Linked DNA regions of Homo sapiens: region 1 is linked to region 2. Evidence: promoter capture Hi-C in 16 types of primary human blood cells and fetal thymus (Javierre and others, 2016). All regions are on one chromosome and are shown on one strand. The core of a region is centred on a gene start or on the middle of the fragment in contact, and the rest is flanking DNA. Distances in the headings are between cores, read along the strand shown.

Region 1 (4,213 bases), core at 1,170-3,669, 4.1 Mb after region 2:
TGTAATTCACAAAGCCTAGCTGTTTACTCTGCAATTCAAAGAAAACCAGAGTCCAGCAAGGAATTTCTCCCAGGGAGTGAGTATGTACAGTTTATACCTCTGACCTTAAAAATCTCCATATGGGCACTTTGGAAGGCTGAGGTGGGTGGATCACCTGAAGTCAGGAGTTCAAGACCAGCCTGGCCAACATGGCAAAATCCGGTCTCTACTAAAAATACAAAAATCAGCCAGGTGTGGTGGCAGGCACCTGTAAACCCAGCTACTCGGGAGGCTGAGGCAGGAGAATCTCTTGAACCTAGAAGGCGGAGGTTGCAGTGAGCCAAGATCGTGCCACTGCACTCCCAGGTGACAGAGTGAGACTCTGTTTCAAAAAACAAAACAAAAAACTTCTTTATGGGTGTGTCTCTGTATGCAATTTAATTACTGTACTTTGGTTCTGTATCATTCCAACAGATACGCTTTAATGTAACCCATGTCCTGGGGAGTGGAGGGCCAGAGCAGGTGGCTGCTGCAGTTCCTGGAGGCAGCCCTGCCCGGGGTGGAAATCAAGGCGCTCCTCCCCACAGTGGACAGGGACCCGCTGTGGTGGAATGGAAGTCAGTTATCCTTAAAAGAAATCCCATCAAAAAAAAAACTCCCTTTGAAGTACTTTTTTTCTTAAAACCAATGCAACACAAATTCCCCCAAAACCATTTTCCATCACAGTGGAATGATTTTCTAAAACCCCATGCCTCTTAAGTTCTCTGGCATCAGTTAGACATTTTTCTTTCCCAGTGCCAGTTAGTTTTGTTGTAGAGAGCCTCCGTCACCACTGAAAAATATTGCCTACTCTGGACTGCAACATATTTAAAGAACGGCTCCTATTCATTGTGCTGGTGCAGAGAATTCCCGCCCTATAGCGGAGGACAGCAGAGAAGGATAATGGGAATCTTTTTTTTTTTTTTTTTTTTTTTTGAGATGGAGTCTCGCTCGCTTTGTCGCCAAGGCTGGAGTGCTTTGGCTCAATCTTGGCTCACTACAACTTCTGCCTCCCGGGTTCAAGCCATTCTCCTGCCTCGGCCTCCTGAATAGCTGGGATTACAGGCGCCCGCCACCATGCCCAGCTAATTTTTCTACTTTTAGTAGAGATGGGGTTTCACCATGTTATCCAGGCTAGTCTTGAACTCCTGACCTCAAGTGATCCACCCTCCTTGGCCTCCCAAACTGCTGGGGTTACAGGCATGAGCCACCGCGCCTGGCCAGGAATCTTTATTGTCAAGAAAATGGCGCAAATGTGCCACCAAAAGAAGCCATGTTTCTCAAAGACTTCTGTTCCTACAAGACTGAGTTTATGACACTAAGGCGTGCTATTAAGACCTAAAAGAACCTCACGCATCCATACATTGAAGTGACTTGGCTTCTGAGACCCAAGGCCTTTGATCTTCTCACCAGTGTCCCTCCATATGGGCCGACTGCCACTGGAAAGGAGAGTAGAAACGGAAACAGACCCGTCTGGACAGAATCCAAAGTGCAAACAGGAACTGTGCCCAGAGAGAGGAGGAGGTGGCAGAAGCATGAAGGCTGCTTAGATCCCTATGTTCTAAGAAAGACCGCTCTTTCCTGGCTTTAACTTCCTTGGCTCAGAAGTTTAGGATTTGCTCAAAATCAGAAAAAGCAACTTTGGGGGAAAAAAAAAATCTGGATGTGGAAGAAACTGGCGGTGAAAGTCATATTGAGTGATTAATGATAAAAATTATTTCCGCTCCTTGGTTCTTGAGTCGGTATGAAACGCTGGCAGCCTCTAATTAATCATCACCATGATATTAACACCACTGACTTTTCATTGCTTCTGCTACTTTCTTTCTAGACATCTGTATCCTCTAAGTAAATATTATCCGCCAAAACTTTGTTATAAGTTGTGCAACTGGGTTCGCCCAAGGCACCGGAGCCTGCGCGCAATCGCACAGGTACGCGGCCGCCCGCGGTCCTCAGGAAGAAACGCTTCGCCGCCGCCGGCAAGCGGGGCCGAAGCTCCGGCGGGCTCCTCCCGGGCCTGGGCGCCCGACCTCTCCGCGGCCCGCGCCCCTCGGGCGGGCATCAAGGCCCGGAACCCGTCTCAGCGCTCGCCGGGGCCCTCCCCGCGGAGCCCCCGCCCGGCGCCCCCGGGTTCGAGCCCGCCCCCGGCACCCGCGCGTGGAGAGAGAGGAAAAGAGTCAGTACCGGCGGGCGGGTGTCCAGCTTTAGTCTCTAGTTTCCCTTCGGGAGGCGAAGACATGACGCGGCGGGGCTTCCGCGGGGCCGAGGCGGCGGCGCGGTTCTCGGGCCGGGCGGGCGTGCGCGAGTGAGCTCAGGTGTGAGCGCCGGGGAGCGAGCGGGCGGGAGAACGACGCGCGCGCGTGGGGCGCCGGGGCCGCGCGAGCCGGGTGAGTGCCACTGCCGTTAAGGGGGCGCGGCCGCCGCGCGCCGACGTGGCGCAGCCGAGCCCACCGACGGCATGCGCACTGACGTCACCGCGGCCCGCCCGCCCTGCTGGGCCGCGAGCCAAGCATACGGTGCGTGCGCAGCCGGCCGCGCCACGTCGGATGCTGTGGCCGGGGGCGGGGGCGGGGGCGGGGGCGGGGGCGGAGGAGGGAGGGGAGAGAAGGGGTGAAGAAGTGAGAGGGAGAAGGAAGGAGAGGGAGGCGGGGTCCCCGACTGGCTGCGGGGACTGGAGTTGCGGAAAGTTAAGTAGGGCCCAGCTGAGGATGGCTCCTGCAGCGAACGCGCTCAGCCGGGCTCCTGGCTACGCGGCGACGGCTGGGTGACTGCGCCCCACAGTGCGGGCCAGGGCCGGGGCGTCCCGGCAGGGAGGCGACCGTCCCCTGAGGCCCTCAGCCCCTGCCGCGGCAGCGCCTAATGAAGCGCGGAAAGGAGAGCCCAGATGGCAGCGACGGGGGCCGAGAGAGCAGGAATTTGTTAAAAGACGATGCGAGGGGAGAGCCTGCTTTCCGAGTGAGGGCCAGCGCTGGGGAGCAGAGACGGTGGCTTCTGTCCCTGCCCTCCTCGTTATGAACCAAAAATAAAATTCTAAGCCCTGCAGCCAACGGATGGACCCTCCCCTCCGCCTGTGGCCTTCTAAGTTATCTTGAAAAACTAGTTCAGGCCTTGATGGGAAGCGGAAGTCAAACATGGCCTCACAAACATCCGCACGGAGACCCTAAGACTAATAGAGGACTCTGATAAGAAACATTTGCAGTGTATTCCCGGCTTCATCTGCATGATAACACCTTGGTCTCCACAACTCCTTCATGCAACCCGGACATTCCCTTCTACTGAGTCCAGGTCTTTAGATGATAACTCTCAACCAGTTGCCAATCAGAAAACCTTTAAATGTACCTATGACCCGGACGCCTCCACTTCACATTTTACCTCCTAAAGAGCCAACCTACATCTTACGTATTGATTGATGTCTCATGTCTCCCTCAAATGTATAAAACCAAGATGTTTCCTGGCCACCCTGGGCACATGTCATCAGAACCTCCTGAGGTTGTGTCAATGCACGTCCTTAACCTTGGCAAAATAAACTTCCTAAATTGAGACCACTCTCAGAAACTTTTGGTTTTCACCATCATCTTCCTGTTGCCGTGGCTGACCCCTGGCTCTCGTGCCTTGGATCGTGTTCTTCCCGCCTGCCCCAGTGTTTTGCAACTGCTGTTAACTTCCGCAATGCCTTGCTGGATTCGCATTCAGACAGGCCTAATCTCTTTAGCGAAGGAAACACCACCCCTCGCTTGGCTGTACTTTTCCCTTTGACAACAAAACTGTTCAGGGAGGCTGAGCTCCTCATCTCTTGTCACTCCCTCCAGTCCAGTTTGTCTGGTTTTCATCAAGTTCTGCTGCACTGCCCTCAACCATGGGAGGTCCTTTTGTGGAAGTCACTTATAACCTATGTGCTGCCAGATCCAATGGTCATTTTCTACTTTCATTCTATTTGAGCTCTTAGCAGCACTTGATGCAGCTGGCCGTCCCCCTCCTCCTTTGCTCCGGAGGTGCCACATCACTGCCTTACCCTCCAGTTCTCTGGCCACCCTGGCTGCTCACTCTGTCAGCTTGGCAGTTCGCCCTCTTCTAGATTTATAAACATTTGAGTATCGCAAGGCTCAGCATTGGCCTTCTTCTCTATCTAGACTTCCCATAGATAGTCACATGCAGCCTGTGGACGACTATCATGCAGATGCTTACAGGTGCCAAATCT
Region 2 (3,965 bases), core at 9-2,508:
AGCAAATGCAGTACCAAGAAATATAATTCAAGTGATAGAGATTAATATCCCAAATAAATATTCGGCATGAAGCACTGTGGTACCTACCAACTCAGTGGCTGTGGAACTTCAACTTTCTGACCGTCCACCTCCAGGTCCTCCAATTCCTTAAAATATTTGTTCTTTAAGCAATGGAGAATCTCTTTTGCGTGGCTATTGAAAAATAAGGAAGTTTCAAACTGATCTAAAAAACTAAGTTAATACATTGTATCTTCTTAAATTTAAGACTGCAAGTGTTTTAAAACTAAAACCAACTTTTGCATGGAGAGTAAACATTCTTTAGTCACTACTTTTACACTGTATGCCTTCAAAATTTAAGCAATCCACACTGTTTGAGCCCTAAGAGCAACACTGCATTCCTTCTCTCCTAAGCATATCCTACCGTTAAGTTTTACTTGCGACTCATTTAGAAAGATGTAACTACAAAGATGGAGGGGGGGCGCGGAGGAGGGGAGAACCAAGGGGTTTTATGCATTCTCTATAAATTCTCTTACGTTCCAAAAGGTAAGACCCTCAGCTTCCCTCCTGGAAGATTCCCCAGGAGCCGAATCTTCCTCAGATCTCATTTTCATTTCGTCTTCTAACCTTGCGCCTGCAATACCTCCGTGACCATTTCATTGGACCCTGTGCTCCCCACCTCAATGCTTCCTGAATCCAAACCGCTGAAACGCCACGGTTCTCTGGCACTGTAACACTTGTCGAAGAAAACACCGTCGCCTTTAACCTCCAGCATCCTGGCCCCAACTCCCAAAAAATCAGGCACTGCCTCCCTACCTTTTGTAACCAGTAATTCTTAAAGTGGCCGGGAGCGGCTCCCTGAGAGCGTCCATGAACTGGCCCCACTCGCCCTCGGGCACGATCTTGAGCTCCTGGTAGTAGTGCTCGAACAGCTTGTTCTCCTTGACGATCTCGGGGTAGCCTCCTTCCCAGCCCTGAGGAAGGAAAGAGACGTCTACCCCGAGGCCCAAGGAGCCGCCCCCTCGCCGCCGCCTCGCAGGCCTCGGGGTCCGGGAAGCCCAGGAGGAGCCCCTGGCCCGCCCGCCGGGTCCCGGCTCCTACCGCCTCGCCGCGCTTTCCACCACCCTCGGCGCCATCCTCCGCGTCCTCCGGCCGCTGCTGTTGCTGGAGCCGCCGACCCCGCGACCGCCGCCCCATAGCCCACGCGGCCGCGCACGCAGCACGCAGAAACCGGCCCGCCACGGCCAGAACTCTAGCCCTACACCTCCCGGGACTTCCGGCCGGAAACCAAGGCCCCACGTGTCCGGGCCTGGTCCTTTCGGGGACCTTTGGGGACCGTCCAGGAATAAGCCCAAAGCGCACAACCCGTCTTTCAGAAAAGCGGCGTGACAGGGAAAACAGCGAACAGCTCTAAGGGGAAAAAAATGCTCCAGGAAGCAGCCACAAAGGCGTCTCCGCGCGAAGCGCCCAGGTTTCCCACGCGGGCTCAAGGAGCTCCGCGGACAGCCTGAAGCCGCGCGTGCGCAGAGCGGCGCGGGGTTACTGCGGCCCCGGCGTGGGTGGGGCGCTTGCAGGTCCCTCCCCGCGCAAGTGCTCGCCCCGCCCCCGGGGCCGCACCCACAGCCCCGGCTACCCCGGAGAAGCCTGACTTGAGAACCCTTTCTGCAGAGTCCCGGCAGTGCGGGACTCCGGTAGCCGCCCCTCCGGTAGCCGCCCCTCCTGCCCCCGCGCCGCCGCCCTATATGTTGCCCGCCGCGGCCTCTGGGGCATGGAGCACGCTGCCCAGCCCTGGCGATGGCAACGGCGACGGGGGTGGCGGAGGAGCGCCTGCTGGCCGCGCTCGCCTACCTGCAGTGCGCCGTGGGCTGCGCGGTCTTCGCGCGCAATCGTCAGACGAACTCAGTGTACGGCCGCCACGCGCTGCCCAGCCACAGGCTCCGAGTGCCGGCGCGGGCCGCCTGGGTGGTGCAGGAGCTGCCCTCGCTGGCCCTGCCGCTCTACCAGTACGCCAGCGAGTCCGCCCCGCGTCTCCGCAGCGCGCCCAACTGCATCCTCCTGGCCATGTTCCTCGTCCACTACGGGCATCGGTAACGTCCCCGGCCCCCGGCCCCCTACCCTACTCCCGGCCCGGCGTCCTCTCCGACCCTCCCCTCACTGCCCGGTGCCCTCTCCCCGAAGCCTCCCCCACCCAGATGCCCTCTCCCTGCCAGATCCCCCGGGGCGTCCCCCATCTGCACGGGTGCCCTTCCCCGAGTCCCCCGGCCCCGGGAGTTTGGAAACCAGAAGGGATTCGTCTGGAAAGGGCGGGAAACAAAGGACTGGAAGGGAGTGATGGAAAAAAACATGATGAAACTGATCTGGAAAGAGCCACTCAGTGGTCCTAGGTTTGGTTTCCTTAGCCGGGCGCGGTGGCGCCTGTCTGTGATCCCAGTTACTCGGGAGTCTGAGATGGAAGAATCGCTTGAACCCGAGAGGCGGAGGTTACAGTGAGCCGAGATCTCGCCACTGCCCTCCAGCCTGGGTGACAGAGCGAGACTCTGTCTCAAAATTAAATATATAAAAATAAAGAGTTAAAAAGTAAAAATGTAAAATAAAAATGAAGACTAGATTTTGTTCCCTTAGATCACGACTGTGGGGGCGGGGGGGAGGGGGTTGGCCTAGAGTCTAATGCTGATGGTCGGTCTTGAGGGCCACTGGTTTCTACTCCTTTCTGCCGGTTCCCCTTTTGGTATCTTTGGTGATGGTGGAGCTGTTTTCTCCCAGCCAAGTGATCAGCTGCAACTGGAAACCTGCTGTCCTAAAACTGCCTAGCAGTTTCTCCTTATAGGCTTGATCACTTTCAGAGACTTTCATGTCCACCTTATGCAAGGGACCCCAGGATTGTGGGGGTGGAAAGCCAGCAACCTTAAACCTTAAACAAACGAAGTCTTAAAGATGACTTCTAAATCTTTCAAGGTTTTTGTTTTTTTGAATATTTGAAAACTGGCTGTGTCTGAAATCTTCAAGCCTTCTAATAAGTTGGGGTTCTCTCCAGGTCGTATCTTTTGGCTTTTACACAGCCAAAGCAAACGACAGGTCGAAAGTTCAAAATTAAATTTTAAACGTTTTCATTCAGGCTCTGGAAAGCTTCACAGTTAAAAAGGATGTCTCTACACCCAAGGAAGTTGAACTCACTGGCTGTGTGACTATGGGCAGTTTACCCAACCTTTCTGATTTGGGGTCCCACCTTAAAACACTCACTTCCCAGAGAGACAGGAAGAACTCAGTGTGTGTTTATAAGCCTCTCTTCTTTCTCCTGGTGTCATGCATTCCAGCGAAGAGAAAGTACACAGCTCCACTACTTGGAACCAGTGTTGTACCCAGCACAGTTTTTGGTACCTGAGTTCCCTGAAAACCAGCACCTTACCCTGTAACTGGTGCAGTCTGTGTCCTCAGTGTGCTTTGATGACTTGCACTTTAAACAAGGGCAAGTCAACATTCATCAGAGGCTTAGTGAGTACTGTGTGCCTGAAACTCTTTACCATTGCTTTATTTTTTTTTTGGAATGGGATCAACCATTGCTACAATTTGAATATTAGTCAGACTTTGCTGTTTGTATATACTTTTCCATAAATATACCAGAAGCTGTATGTCTGTTTCTTTATGGCTAAAAGCAATCTCAGGTCAGAGTATTCGGTGCTATCCTAGTCCCATCAGTCATGACCCTGGATGAGTTACTAAGCTGCCCCGCAGCAAGGTTTCCCCACCTGTAGAATGGGCATGGTGATGGAACCCCCCTGTGGGATCACATGAATTTAGAGCAAAGGCAACTCCCTAAAATGCTTGCATGGTGCTGGCGCATCTGCGTGCTCAGTACACAATACCTAGCACTATTTTGCATTGCTGTGAATGCACATCCAGACATGTACTCTGTGTGTCATTCATGTGCACTGCTGCCAGCCTCATGTGCCAGCAAAACTGTGGTGTTG

What was found. Contacts are between HindIII fragments. The CHiCAGO score rates a contact against its expected background, and 5 or more counts as called.
Region 1: a contact is called between the fragment with the promoter of DAP here and the fragment with the promoter of NSUN2 in region 2, in 1 of 17 cell types (total CD4 T cells). The highest score is 8.6, in total CD4 T cells.

Annotation. Positions count from the first base shown.
Region 1 is chr5:10,758,815-10,763,027 of GRCh38, forward strand. DAP (death associated protein) reads right to left here and starts at 2,420. Exons shown (of 4, transcript NM_004394.3): 1 at 2,200-2,420. The coding sequence starts at 2,254. DAP-DT (DAP divergent transcript) reads left to right here and starts at 2,222. Exons shown (of 3, transcript NR_187555.1): 1 at 2,222-2,402. RefSeq lists silencers at 1,976-2,405, 2,486-2,955 and an enhancer at 2,478-3,323. The HindIII fragment of the contact is 9,246 bases long and covers 1-4,213 here.
Region 2 is chr5:6,631,786-6,635,750 of GRCh38, forward strand. It overlaps NSUN2 (NOP2/Sun RNA methyltransferase 2), which reads right to left and starts at 1,259. Exons shown (of 19, transcript NM_017755.6): 1 at 1,099-1,259; 2 at 814-971; 3 at 88-192. The coding sequence starts at 1,194. It overlaps SRD5A1 (steroid 5 alpha-reductase 1), which reads left to right and starts at 1,655. Exons shown (of 5, transcript NM_001047.4): 1 at 1,655-2,084. The coding sequence starts at 1,792. RefSeq lists enhancers at 1,355-1,866, 1,867-2,378 and a silencer at 1,502-1,891. The HindIII fragment of the contact is 4,632 bases long and covers 1-3,121 here.